Regions from separate parts of the Homo sapiens genome. Here regions 1, 3, 4 and 5 are each linked to region 2. Evidence: promoter capture Hi-C in 16 types of primary human blood cells and fetal thymus (Javierre and others, 2016). All regions are on one chromosome and are shown on one strand. The core of a region is centred on a gene start or on the middle of the fragment in contact, and the rest is flanking DNA. Distances in the headings are between cores, read along the strand shown.

Region 1 (2,700 bases), core at 54-2,553, 380 kb before region 2:
CTCTGACAGGGAGCCCTGTTCAGGGTTTATCAGGTCTATCAAACATCTTTCTCTTTCTACCTCATCCCTAAGGACTGGAATGTGGTGGAAAGAACGTTGGACCAGGCAATGGGAGAACCAGGATCTAAACATATCTTCATTAATTTTACCTTGAATTTATCTGGCCTCTTATTTCCTCTTCACAGCATCAACTTTCTTGTAAAAGTGGATGCCTACTACTGTTCCCCAAAGGAAGAGGCAAGGTAAAACAAAGTCTCCACAATACTAGCAATACCAAATGTGGAACAAATCCCAGTGGTAGTGTTACTTGGTGCTCTGTGACTTTGGAACCTAAAGCTTCACTAGACCGTTGCAATTACTAAGTGAGTAAATAAAGCACATAGCACAAAGGCCTGGCACTGAGATGCCCACCCTCTTCATGGGGCTCCTGTCTTCTTCCTTCCTGATAGATCATGTGTAAGTTCATATGTATCTATAAGGGACATGAATTATCCAGAATTCCTTATAGTCAGAATGTACAGTGATATAATGTTCCTGAGTTACTTACCCATTTCCACTGGGTAAGTCAGCTTGCAGAACTCATTTCCGTTTCTCTTCAACTAGCCAAACATCCATTTTCACCTACATGGAAACTTCTACTGGCCTTGGGACAAATAAATCACATTTGGAGTGTCCCAGGACAATTTAGCTTTAGAAGAAAGAAAAAAAAAAAACAAGGATGGTAACATGAAAGGACGTTTGCTGTGTTGGGCTGTCACTAAGTCCCCATCGAAACTGTGAAAAATTATGGCCAATAAAATAACATTTTTCAAAATGTGACACTACCCTTAAGTTTATCTTGGGCAATAAATGGGTTTTAAAAAGAATATTTGAGGGCTATCCATTCTTCAAGCACTCAATAACATATCATAAGTTAATTGCATTATTAATTTATAACAGAGTAATTGTTTTGTCTCAACAGTCATTTTCACAAGCTCTGACATTCATTTTCTCTTCCTTTTTAATCATCTCAAAATATTAACACTTAAACCACCCCCACCATGCCACCCCAGTTGTCCGCCTCCTCCTACAAAATATAAAAAATGATTCTGAGGGCTGGGCACAGTGGCTTACGCCTATAATCCCAGCACTTTGGGAGACTGTGGCAGGCGGATCACGAGGTCAGGAGTTCAAGACCAGCCTGGCCAATATGGTGAAATTCCCTCTCTACTAAAAATACAAAAACTAGCTGGGCACAGTGGCACGCACCTGTAGTCTCAGCTTCTTGGGAGGCTGAGGAAGAAGAATTGCTTGAACCTGGGAGGCGGAGGTTGCAGTGAGCTGAGATGGTGCCACTGCACTCCAGCCTGGGCGACAGAGCGAGACTCTGTCTCAAAAAAAAAAAAAAAAAGATTCTGACAGTTGGCATGCATAATCTTCTGGCCACCCTTTTGTGATAATGAAAAGAATAAGAACAAAAGCAGCTAGTATTGACTGAGTTTGAAGCTCTGCGAAACAGTCTACTAAACAGTTTAACTGCATTACTTCATTTAATCTTCCCAACAATCCTGTAAGGTAGATGGCAGTATTATGCCTATTTTACATGTGAGGGAATTAAGGCAGAGAATCATTTTCTAAAGCCAAAACAAAAAACCATCCTCACCATTTATTTGGTGAGGGTTCATGAATACAGCTTTTCGTAGGCCAGATTTGCTTAAATAAGAATGTGTTTGAGTGCTGTTCATTCTATATAACACAAAATATAAATATCATCTTTAATTGTACCCAAGTCTAAGTAGTGAAAGGCAGAGGAAAATTAAGTAAAATACCTATTAAGACCACAAAAACTATGTCTTCGGGAATGAATTTTTTTTAAATGAATGATCCAGTTTGGGTACTGGTGTACATTGTAGTGTTAGAATGACCTTATTATGACATGTACAGGCATTGTGATTGTTTTGTTCCTGAAAGGTCAGAACACTAATGTGCAAGCCCAGGCTCTGTCACTATCTGTGCTGTGTCCAGTAGTTCACTTCATCTTTCTGAATCTCAATTATCTCAACTGTAAAAGATTGGCCCTAATATTCCAGTATTCCTAGAGTTTTTGTTGATAACAGGATAGACCCAAGAAACTGTTTACAAGCTAATCATGAAGATGATAAGGGGAAGACAGCCCATTTTTAATGCCCAAGTTTAGATATAGCAAGACTCAGTCTTGCATTTCAACCTGCCTGAAGGGAGAACCACACAGTTGGACAGCAGAGAGGAAAAGCCCCTATATGAAAGCTTAATAATAACAACAACCAAAAAAGGGCAGTCTTGAAGCATCATGACACTAAAAGCTCATTAAGATCTCTGTCCCAGCTATTACACTCCTAATTGAACAGTTACACAAATAGATGTACAATACAATTGTGACTCTAATTAAGGCTCCGACCTCAGAATCTAGTCAAAGCTTGTACAGTTCTCACTCCCCCTTTAAATAGCTGTTCTGGGCAAGCTCTGGGAAGGGAAGCTGTTCTATTATGACTTCACTGAAATAACATGAAAATTCATACAAGCGCTTCTTTTTCTTTTTTACCCAAAATACACCTCCCACTCTCCATTTCTTTCCTTTAGCTTCTGGGAGTGTGATCCTTTGGTAGGAGCGGATGCAATTTGCCAATCCAGTAGTGTCTGCCATATTGCTTTCAACACTTTTCTACAGTGCCCTCCATCAGT
Region 2 (2,700 bases), core at 175-2,674:
CACCACTGCACTCCAGTCTGGGAGACTCTGTCTTAAAATAAAATGTAGAACATGCTTCCCTAATAGCACACACTAGATTCTGTTTATGCAATAAGTTTATGCAGTTCCTTGTATTAAAAAAAATTATAGGAGGCCATTGTTTAGAACTTCTGCACTAGACCCCAAGAGACCAGACTAAAATAAAAATGGTATCACTCAGGCTCACCACACCGAAACTGAGTTATGTGGCCCTCCAAGAAATCAGGAGACAGAGGTAACAGGCCAGTTTCAATTTTCAATCAGCAAGATAATGAATTTCCTCTGTTTTAGTCCCTACAGCAAAGAGTAACTTGAAGTAACCTGATGTTAACCAATCAGTTATCTTTCTATTGTACTGTCTGTCTCCACCTTACCAGGAAAGTAACTTTGAAATGATCAATCTGCTTTTTGTTCTTTGTTTCTACTTTCTACAGACCTTTTTTCTGTCCGTAATGCCAACCTCCTCTGTTCCACTCATTGGGACACTCATTCCATTTTATGGAATGAAGTGTTGCCTGATTCCAGAATCGCAATAAGGCCAACTGAGATCTTTAGATGTGTCAAATTTTTGTCTTTTGACACTTGTGCTGGTCTGTCTAGAACGCCCTTTCTCTTCATTCCACATACCCACATTCTTCAAATGAGCTCACACGGCAGGTGCTCAGTGCAGCAACTGACATGTAAGTACTCAATACTATTCAAAACTGCGTTTTGTCCCTCACACTAGCTATTCCTCTCCCTCTAACCTCAATCTATACACCTTTCTTATGTAGTTTATTACTTTCTATTGTATTTAATGTAAATGTCTTAGATTGCCAGAGATCCAAAGCACTGGAAAAATCAGTATTCAGTCTTAGTCCATGTGTACCCAGCACCAAGCACAAAGTACTCTGTTTACGGTCAATAAATCTTTCCGTAATGGATGAGAACAAAACTAGTGTTTGAACTCACAGCTAAAACTGGATGGGGAGTGGAGCGGAGGTGAAGGAGCACTTAATGAGGCCCTACTATGTGCCAGGTACTGTGCAGAGCACAGCTTCTTCCTTTGTTTCATTTAATCCTTTCCAAAAAACCGTATGATGCAGCAGTAACAATTTCATCTCCATTTTACATATGAGGAGTTTGGGTTACGGAAGTCAGGAAACTTGCCTGAGGTCACAACCAAGTATGTTTGGGTCTTTCCAGTACCGCACTTGTCGCTTGTCCGCCTTCCAATTTATCACTCCCCTCCTCTCCCCGACGAAGGTCGAGGACTTTCTAGGAAAACACGCAGTCTCCAACCACTTCCGCCTGGCGAGCCCAGTCTCGCACTTCGCTGCCAGAACCACAGCGAGCGCTTGTGGCGGGAGGAAAGGAGGGGAGCAGCCGTCAAGACGCAAGGCCCCGCCCACTATGTCGCTGAGACGTCATCACGCAGGGCCGAGTCGGCGCGGCCACATCCTTTAAATATGGTCTTTTTTGGGCGCGCGCGACAATGTGAGGAGTGGGGTGGAGCGTGTGTGGTGTGTGGCTGCGGCCTGGGCAAGAGCCGCCGCGGACCATGAGGTGGGCGGAAAGGCTGTGTTGCAGCCCAGACGCGGACGGGAGGGCGCTGCCGGGCCAGCGGGCGTGCTCATGCAGGGGCGGGAGGAGGGAACATGGCGGCCGGGCCAGGACCCTTTGCTCCTGGCTCTGCGCGGCTCCTACCCCTGCTTTGCTTGCCCTTTTACCTGCTTTTCTGGAACCTTGTTTCCCCTCTCTTTGCGTCCCCTTTCCCTCAGCCGTTTCTTTTGCCTTCCTCGACTATTCCCCCCCAGCTCCACACTGGGTCGAAGTGTGAGAGGTAGATTAAGTGGGAGCCGGTCGGGCCCGTTCGGTGTCGAGAGACCGACTCCTAAATTTGATTAGGTTCTCGCAGGTCACTTTATCAGTCTGCCTGGGGTCACAGGAGAAGTACTGAACATGAGAGATCAAGCCTGATTTGTAGTCCTGATGATGTCTGTAAGTGATCTTGTGAAATGTCACTTAAGTTGACCTCAAGTCTTCTCAAATGTGAGGTTCTTTGTGAAAGGCCTAAGATTCCTGATATCGAGGTAGCTTTTGTCATAAAGTGCCTGCCAGAATCTGCCCCATAACAAAGCATGGTCGGGAAAACAAAAGATTTATTTTGGCAGTAAGGGAATGGAAAACTGAGTTGACTTCCCGTTCCATGCCATCAAGTGGCCTAGTATGTAAGCAATGAGAACACCGTTCTGTTTCAGCTCTTATTTCCATAGTGAGTGTCCTGAGAGTAACACTCCCGGCGTAGATTAAATGGAAAAGGGCTCGTCCTGTATCGTCATTGCTGCTCTGCTACAAAGAACCTTGGGTCTGCTGTATTCTGTTTTAGGTGCCACAGTCTGTTGAGGGTAGATGTTTAGGGAGAGATTCTTCCTCACCTAATAGCACCTGGCCTAGCCAATCACTTGCTTTTGATCTTGGCCTTTTGTTTTTACTCAGCTGAGTAAGTTCTGGAGGGATCCTGCCTCTTGGAGCCTTCGCAGCCAGGCAGCTGTGAACTGTGAGCTAGAGTGAAGCAGAAATCTAGGAAGATGAGCTCCAAGATGGTCATAAGTGAACCAGGACTGAATTGGTGAGTTGTAGCCACTTTGTAATCCACTGAAGAGGAGTGTAGTGGGGCTGATGGTTGACATAAGAAAATAG
Region 3 (2,700 bases), core at 167-2,666, 440 kb before region 2:
AGCGTAAAGGTAAAGTGAATTCCAAAAGCCACATGGTGAGTGGCAGAGATGGGAATTGAACCCTGTTTTTTCTTTAATTGTATTGGAGCATAACACATACAAAGAAATGTGCACAGATCATATTTGTGCAGCTCAATGAATTTGTAGGTGAACACATCGCCTATACCCACATAAAGAAATGGAATAGGATCAGCATCTCCAAAACCACCTCATGACCTTGCCAGTCACTACCCTTCCTCAGAGGTAACCACTGTCTTGACTTCTAGCACCTTAGATGACTTTTGCATATATTTTGAACCTCATTTAAATTGAATCATGTGCTATGTACTCTTTTATGGACGGCTTCTTCTGCCTAACATTCTGTGCATAGAATTTGTCCATGTTGATGCCTGCAATGGGTCTTTCCTTTTCATTGCTATGTAGTGTTCCACGGTAGAAATGTGCCATGATTGATCCATTCTGTTAGGGATGGAATTAGTGGTATTTCCATTTTGGGGTTTTTATGAATAGTGGCTCTGTGAATATTCTTATACATGTCCTCAGGTGGATATAAGTATGGATTTCTGTTGGATATATCCTGGCAGTGGAATTGCAGGGGCATGGGGTAGGCATATGTGAACCAGGAGCTCCAGTTTTCTTTCTATCACCCATTTGTCTCTACAAATAGGTTAAGAAATTAACCACTTTATGTGATTAGTTCTATAAGACTGGAGAATAACACAGGGTCTTAGGAGGCTATGAGGTAGAACCAAGACTGCAATTTAGGCCTTGATATTCTGGTCCTGGGTTGATCATGAGCCCCAAGGCCCAATCCAGACCTTCAAGGCTTCATAAATCTTCCTTGAAGTGAGTTTAATGCAAGAAAAGAACTCCACTGAGGTGTCCTGCATCTGTAGTTTTACACAATAGCATGTCATTTCAGGACACCAAAAGTCATCTCACAGAGAGAAACATGAACATAATTGTTTAAACTATCAGCAAATGGAAAAATGTTATGAAGATTTCAATAAAATTCATCTTCACATTTGGTGTACCTGAAGATTTGTCAATATTATAGCAATGGTCTCATCACAGTTTCATCTTTGAGGATGAACAATATCTATTGTAATAGCTCGCTGTTAACTATGAACCCATGGTATGTAGGCTTCTCCCTGGGGTATGTGGTAATCCACATCTGTCATATCTTAGTGCCCAGCCTGTTGTTCCTAGCACCCAGTTTGGGTACTGGTAAAGCTTGGTGACTTTAGGCCTAAGAGAGACCTAAAATGGGTGGCCTACTGACAGTTCCAGGTGACAGCCATGGTCTGAGGATGTGGGTGATATGATAGGAAAAAATGTGGGCTTCACATACAAATGGGCATAGGTTCAAATCCCAGATCTACTTATTCTTTGACGTTGAAAACATTACTTAATTCTGAGTCTGCTTCTTTAAGACAAAGATGATGAGATTAGCCTTAGAGAAATATTAGAGAAAGGTTAACTTAGATGATAGAGGTGGAAGATAAAATGGCTGATTCGTAGATAGAAACATAGATACTTAGATATATAGATAGATACATAGATAGATGCATACATAATTCCAAGGTCTCCGGAAGCTTTCTTTTCTGCCTCCAAGTCCTTTGGATGTTTGGTTAGTGGGGTGAGATAGTGCTGCTGAAGCTGTGAGGGAGCTGATAAAGGAAGAGGCCTCTTCTCTTTCCTATTCCTTTCCACTAAAACTGAGCCTTCTTCCCCTTCTCCTTCGTATGCAGTTAGCACAGTGGAGTGTGTGATCCTTCCTGGCTCTTCTGTACGTTCTATAAGATTTTATTTCCTGCATGGTTGAACACCAAGCATGAAGATTATTATTTGTTTATTTGTTATTGATTAGTTGACAGCCCTACCTGCATCCAGAAATTTTATACTAAAAACATAGGTACAAAAAGATCAAAACAATATATAAAACAAAAGCAGATATCAGGCAAAAGAGAGGAAAAGAAAACCGTAATGAAAACTCCTACCTAAGGAAAAGATGGATTTTTCAGCTTCCTAGCAGCTAGAGGAAAAGGGAATCAGTGTGGACTTCAGATTTCTCATTATCTATTAGTAGGGGGGCATTGCAGGTCAGGAGGTGCAAATGTCTGCCTGCTCTTGACCAGTGAAAGGAATGTGATACAGGAGTCTTTGTATAGGTGCCGTAATCAGGTAAAAAATATGTATTTAAATATCCCAGAGTAGCCTCTATAATGGATGCAGAGGCACTCCCTATATAGGTATTATCTATAGTAGCCTAGTCTCAATTTTGAGGCATCAACAACTCCTCCCTCATGAAGGAATTGCATTATGGAAAATCACTCGGAGGTGGCCTGTGTGGGCTCCAGGCCTGGCTCTGCCATTTATCTGCTTTGTGACATTGGACCATACCTTCCTTCACCCCTGCTGGGCCCTGGGCTTCTCCTCTATTAAACGAGGGGTCTCCTGCAGTTCTAAGAGCTAAAGTTTCTCTTATTCTTCATATGCCAGGCACCCCGTTGTGTGGGTTTCTCCTCCCCATGCCCAGTGATATCCAGTGAGAATCAATAGCAAGAGCAACCTCAGAGGATAGTCAACTCAAGGGGATGTGGAGGAAAAGCCAAGGAGGCCACTGTTGCCAAGAAATACAGTCTGGAGACCAGTTTTGTATTTGGGGGCAGGGTGGTTCATGCCTAGTGCATATTATAT
Region 4 (2,700 bases), core at 67-2,566, 460 kb before region 2:
AATGTGAAGCAAAGTATAAGATACAAGAAACCTAAGCATACACCTTTTCATCCATGGGCAAATAATTGCCGAACATCTTGCTTAACACACATAATTCGCCTTATGAATAGAAACGTAAAACGGAAACCTGGTTCTGGTTTGACAATTTGACAAACCAGAATTTGACAATAAGCACTAGGGGGAAGAGCACTGATTTGGGATTTGGTCTGATAAGGGTGTATATCCCAGCTCTGCTGTTTACAGGCGAGGCAGCCTTGGCCTTGAGACATAAACTCACTAAGACTCAGTTTCCACATCTAGTTGTAAGGTCTGAAAGATCTACTGTGTGCACAGTAGCTGACCATTATGTAAGGGCTCCATAGATAGTTACGTTTATGATGAGCTGTGGCTTTTGCTGATATTTTGGTTTTCAACCAGATCTATCACATGAAAAAAAAAATTCCATGTTTTTAAAAAATTAGGGGGAATCTTCCGAAGATATTATGGATTAAGTTTTAATTCAATCCTTTAGGAAAGGTGAGTTTGCTTGAAGACTTAGCAGATTTTATGCATAGGAGATTTGCCTGCTCACTGGACTGGTGGGTAATGCAAAGATCAACAATTATCTTCCTAAAATGTCTGCTTTTAAAAACTATTTCTTGGTAACAACAGCAGTGCTAGTCACCAGTTTCCGGTTTGCACGTCTTTTCTTTTCAAGGGCAAACATTTAAAACCCTTCCTTACCTCCAGGATCTTTGAAGAGATGAAAAAGATAGATCAGTGAGGAGAGGGAGGTCTTGGGTTGCTAATGCTAACATGTGGAATGACTCATAATTGCGTAAAAAAGTGAGATCAAAAATTCCTTGTCTTGAGATCTAAAAGTTTTCTTAGAATACAAAGTGAGCACTCACCAAGGAACTAAAAATAAAGTACACTGGAGATCTTCCAAGAACACCTCTGGGTGAAAGCATCATAGAAACTGGCTGCTGTGTCCAGACAGGGAACTCAGCCCGAGGCTGTCTCATTGGGAGGGCCCACTGTTGACCATGGCACTGGTAGACTTTCCTCCAAGTATCTTAGGCCCCTTCACCCGGTTCTGTAGAACAATGACATTGGGACAAGCCAGATTTGGCCCTGGGGTCCTAATAGCTAAATGGAATCGCGAGACGCCAACACATTAAAGAGCTTGGAGTTGAGCAAAGACTGGCACAGTTGTATCATTTTGAAGCTTTAACAACCATTTCATCCAACCCTTCCACTTCAAGGACAAGGAACCTGAAGTCCAAGGAAGTGAAACCACACTCAATTTAGTGCCTTTTAGACCCAGCTTGAATTAACCAGAGGTTGAACTGCAACTGACAAGGCTTTTCCATCCCAGGGTTGGTATATGTAATAGCTTATCACCATGCCATAAAAATTATGAAGTGTTTGGTGTCTCCAAGCTTAGGTTCACAAAGTTGGCTCATTTGATTTTGTCTAATGAGTATAACTTGTTTTTCTATACAATACCACTTCTTTCTTGCAGGTCTGCTATCACATAGGAGAAAAATCATGGCCATTTGCCTTGGTCAACATTTGTTTTCCTTTTCTTCCACTGACTAAAATATTATGATTATTTATTTATTTATTTAGAGACAGAGTCTCACTCTGCTGCCAGGCTGGAGTGCGGTGGTGCGATCTTGGCTCACTGCAAGCTTTGCCTCCCGAGTTCAAACAATTCCCCTGCCTCAGCCTCCCGAGTAGCTGGGACTACAGGCACGCGCCACCATGCCCGGCTAATTTTTTTGTATTTTAGTAGAGACAGGGTTTCACCATGTTGGCCAGGATGGTCTCAATCTTCTGACCTCGTGATCCACCTGCCTCGGACTCCCAAACTGCTGGGATTACAGGCTGACTACAATATTATTTACATACAATGTAATCCAGTTATAAGCATACAGTTAGATGAATTTTGGTTATTGTTTACAACCATAACCACCATCTGAAACAATACATAGAACAGTTCCCTCACCTAAAATGTTCCCTCGGGCCTCTTGGCTCTCAATCCCGTCCCCCTGCAACCTGGCCTCTGGCTTCCACAGATCAGCTTTCTGTCTCTGTATTTTGCCTTTTCTAGAGTTTTATCTAAATACAATAATATAATACATATTCTTTTTTGTTCAACATCTTTCACCTAGCGGATGTTTTTGAGATTCATCCATGTTGTTGTATTATAATTTCTTTTTATTACTGGAATAGTATTCCATCGTATGGACGTACAGTTTGTTTATTCCTTACCAATTGATGGCCTTTGGGGTTGTTTCTGGTTTGGGGCTATTAGAAATCATCTTAGCCAACAATTTTATCTTTAATTTCTTTCAGTGATCTAATCTTGTGACCCAGCCTCTAATTTTTAGGATCTTAGAATGTTCACCATCACTATTAGAGTGAAACATTTTCAAAAAATGCTGATAGGGTTGGAGGTGTTGGCCCCTGATCCTCCCATGTGTGACTTTGGAAGTGATCTTCTACTCATCTTGAAGTAGCAATGCCAAGGCTCAAAGCTGACATGATGGCCTATTTAGTGTTCTGTAATGTAATTTACCACCAGGATAGGCCTTCGGGCACATGACAGAGTGCAACAAAATGCAGTATCCAATATTTATAGTAAATACACTGGAGTGGTTTTTTATCTTGCCTTGTAGAAATGTGCACACACACTGCTTTTCAGCCATTCTAAGT
Region 5 (2,700 bases), core at 118-2,617, 420 kb before region 2:
ACACTGAGCACTCAGTATGAATGACAGAGAAATCATAGCAACCTGAGGATTGTTATTATTGATGTTTCATTTTTGTAAAGCAAACAAGATACTTTATACGTCGTATATGAATGCAAAATGTACCCCCACAAACTTATCAAATCAATGAAGCAACAAAGCATTATATAAGAGGTTTGCTGTGGAAGTTTTAACATGTTAGAAGATATTATATTCATTGTTACCCCCATTTAAATCACTATGTGAACTTGTAGAGACCGACCTCCGATTTTGCATAATTTTAAATTCATGGTCCCTGGGAAGGTAATCACCCCTTTAATAACTGTTGTGTTTCTCTTTATTCCAAATAAGGTGTGCACTCATCTGTGAATTTATGTTGGGCTAGCACGGTGTAAAATTGCCACTTTGCATTGCATACTACTTGGAGAAAGGTAGAATATAATAGCTTCACCAGCTGAATTTCAAAATAAAGCAGAGCCTTGAACATTGGTACCCTATCGTGTGCTTTGGGCTACAGAGACTGAGGAGGCCTGATGCAAACTGGACAGAATTAGGACTCTGAGGATGACTGACTCACAGGGGAAAGGATGGTTCCGGAAGACATTTTATATAAAGCTGCTTGCCAAATCGGCCAATAGGGCCCATAAACGCGTCCAACAGTAGAAACAACAGATCCTGCTGGTCTCTGCCAAGGGTACCTCTGGGAAGACAGACAGTGTTACTTGATTTACTCTGAAGCTGCAATGAGAAGAGTCTAGAGCCCAGTTTTGCAGGCTTCATGTGCCATTAGCCTCTCTCCTCACCTACATCATCCCCTCCTCAGGAGTCTACATTGTCTTCTCCTGGAACCTTCCAAAACAACTAATATAAATTTCAAGCCTGTGGTTGGTGCTTGATGAATGCCAGTTGACTTGACCACTGGAGTGCCACCTCTGAGCTAATAGACTCAGCCAGAAAGGTCAAGATAGTGTCCCATATACAGAGAGGAAGACCAGAATTCATCCCCTGAATAAAAAGCTTCGGATTAGCCTACTTTCTCTCCAAAGCACTCTGTTTTTCAACTTTATTTATTGTGTCTGGCAGATATCCTCAATTAGGAGCTAATAAACGTGAGCATTTATAAATCTTCCTTTCAGCGGAGTACGCCCCTAGATTCAGAGCATTCCGTGGGCAGCTGTAGAAGAGGAGAAAAGCGTTCTGCCCAGTGAAGGGCTAGAGTCAGCTCGTGAGAGCTGATTGTGTGCCTCTTTCCCTAACTCTGAATTCAGTGACCTCGTTCAACCACGGTGGGAGTATTTTTAACACAGAAATCAGCAGAGAGTAGAAACCAAGGGTTTTCCTCTCAGAGAGTGATTTTAAAGCATTGACCAGCATTGTCTTCTGCCTCACTGTACCTCACCTTACCACTCTCTTCTTGAAAAAGATCCAAATCATCTTTCAGCTATGTAGACATGACTCTAAAACAACACAAGATAGAGTCTGATTCACAGCAGAGGCAAGCCGTGCTGCTTCTCTAGGCCTGGATTCTAAATGCAGAACAGTGAACCTGCAAGCAGCATTCTTAGGGCTGAGCCATTCTCACGTGTAAATGGAGAGTTCCTTTCTTTTTTCAAACCCATTTTTGCAGGATGGAGGGTCCTGTCTTCATCTCAGATGAATCAGTGGGAAGCTGATCCACAGCCCACAAATCCCTTTTACTAAGAAGGATCACCTGGTAAGCTTTGGGTTACTCTCTGTTTTTTAAAAAAAAAAAATCATAAAATTGAAATAGTTCAACATAGATTTGAATCTAAAGAGCCTTCACTGCAGAGTTTATCTGGTGACCATATGACACTACAAGGACAGCTTTTAAAAAGCCAAATATCAATGGCTGAAGAATGGAATTGAAGTAGAAAATCGAGTTAGAACTGTATTAAAACAAGTCATATTATTCAGCTTTATCTATAATATTGTCTAATTCATATTTCAGTAGTAGCATAGAAAATGAATCTGATTCACTATGGTTAATTAGCCTCCGGGTTCCCAAGGTGTGAGCTGAGGCACCCTGGACATTGCAGTGGCCTCAAAGGGGTGCCAGGAAATATTTTAAATAGTTGAGGAAAATACAGCAATTCTTGACATCTGTCAGGCACCGTGTGAACTACTAGCTCAAGGTAGTTCACAGTTTCACTACTGGAATGCATAACTTTCTTTCAGTGATGTCATACCTTTGAGAAGCTAAGTTCTTGTCAGTTGCTGTATTATAAAACAGGACCATGTGAAAATCAGTGTGGAGCAGGAAACAAGGGTGAGGGCATCCAACCTGATGCCAGAGTTTGAGAAGTTGCGTAGTGCCCAACAGGCTCATGCATCTCACTATTAAGCACTTACGATTATTTAACAGTGAATGGGACTCATTTTTCTTTTAGTTTATGTGTATTCTTTTTTTCAGAAATCAAGTTGTTAGGACATAAATACTTGTTAAGTTATTTGGGTGTAATTTACAAATAAACAGAACTGTTAGATATTTCTTTCAGCTGAGATGGGCTGTAAAAATGGACAGAACCATTAGGAACATCATGAATCGCCGGGCGTGGTGGCTCACACCTGTAATCCCAACACTTTGGGAGGCCGAGGTGGGCAGATCACCTGAGGTCAGGAGTTCGAGACTGGCCTGGCCAGCATGGCGAAACCCCATCTCTACTAAAAGTACAAAAATTAGCT

Evidence for each region. The method cuts DNA at HindIII sites, captures the fragments that hold promoters and counts their contacts. A CHiCAGO score of 5 or more calls a contact.
Region 1: a fragment that was not itself captured here is called in contact with the fragment with the promoter of ICE2 in region 2 in 2 of 17 cell types (non-activated CD4 T cells and naive CD4 T cells); the score reaches 6.5 in non-activated CD4 T cells.
Region 3: a fragment that was not itself captured here is called in contact with the fragment with the promoter of ICE2 in region 2 in 1 of 17 cell types (activated CD4 T cells); the score reaches 7.3 in activated CD4 T cells.
Region 4: a fragment that was not itself captured here is called in contact with the fragment with the promoter of ICE2 in region 2 in 1 of 17 cell types (activated CD4 T cells); the score reaches 5.4 in activated CD4 T cells.
Region 5: a fragment that was not itself captured here is called in contact with the fragment with the promoter of ICE2 in region 2 in 2 of 17 cell types (activated CD4 T cells and non-activated CD4 T cells); the score reaches 6.3 in activated CD4 T cells.

The regions. Positions count from the first base shown.
Region 1 is chr15:60,862,498-60,865,197 of GRCh38, reverse strand. All of the region lies in intron 1 of RORA (RAR related orphan receptor A), which reads left to right. It overlaps LOC102724802 (a long non-coding RNA gene), which reads right to left. Exons shown (of 5, transcript XR_001751785.2): 1 at 1,809-2,700; 2 at 548-688. Among named protein-coding and RNA genes, the nearest start is that of RORA-AS4, 100 kb to the right of the region's middle. The HindIII fragment of the contact is 1,929 bases long and covers 339-2,267 here.
Region 2 is chr15:60,477,866-60,480,565 of GRCh38, reverse strand. It overlaps ICE2 (interactor of little elongation complex ELL subunit 2), which reads left to right and starts at 1,424. Exons shown (of 16, transcript NM_024611.6): 1 at 1,424-1,563; 2 at 2,497-2,629. The coding sequence starts at 2,589. It overlaps RORA-AS1 (RORA antisense RNA 1), which reads right to left and starts at 1,388. Exons shown (of 6, transcript NR_120342.1): 1 at 1,168-1,388. RefSeq lists enhancers at 1,623-2,150, 2,473-2,592. The HindIII fragment of the contact is 13,398 bases long and covers 1-2,700 here.
Region 3 is chr15:60,919,058-60,921,757 of GRCh38, reverse strand. All of the region lies in intron 1 of RORA (RAR related orphan receptor A), which reads left to right. Among named protein-coding and RNA genes, the nearest start is that of RORA-AS4, 160 kb to the right of the region's middle. The HindIII fragment of the contact is 362 bases long and covers 1,236-1,597 here.
Region 4 is chr15:60,939,836-60,942,535 of GRCh38, reverse strand. All of the region lies in intron 1 of RORA (RAR related orphan receptor A), which reads left to right. Among named protein-coding and RNA genes, the nearest start is that of RORA-AS4, 180 kb to the right of the region's middle. The HindIII fragment of the contact is 214 bases long and covers 1,210-1,423 here.
Region 5 is chr15:60,901,333-60,904,032 of GRCh38, reverse strand. All of the region lies in intron 1 of RORA (RAR related orphan receptor A), which reads left to right. Among named protein-coding and RNA genes, the nearest start is that of RORA-AS4, 140 kb to the right of the region's middle. The HindIII fragment of the contact is 702 bases long and covers 1,017-1,718 here.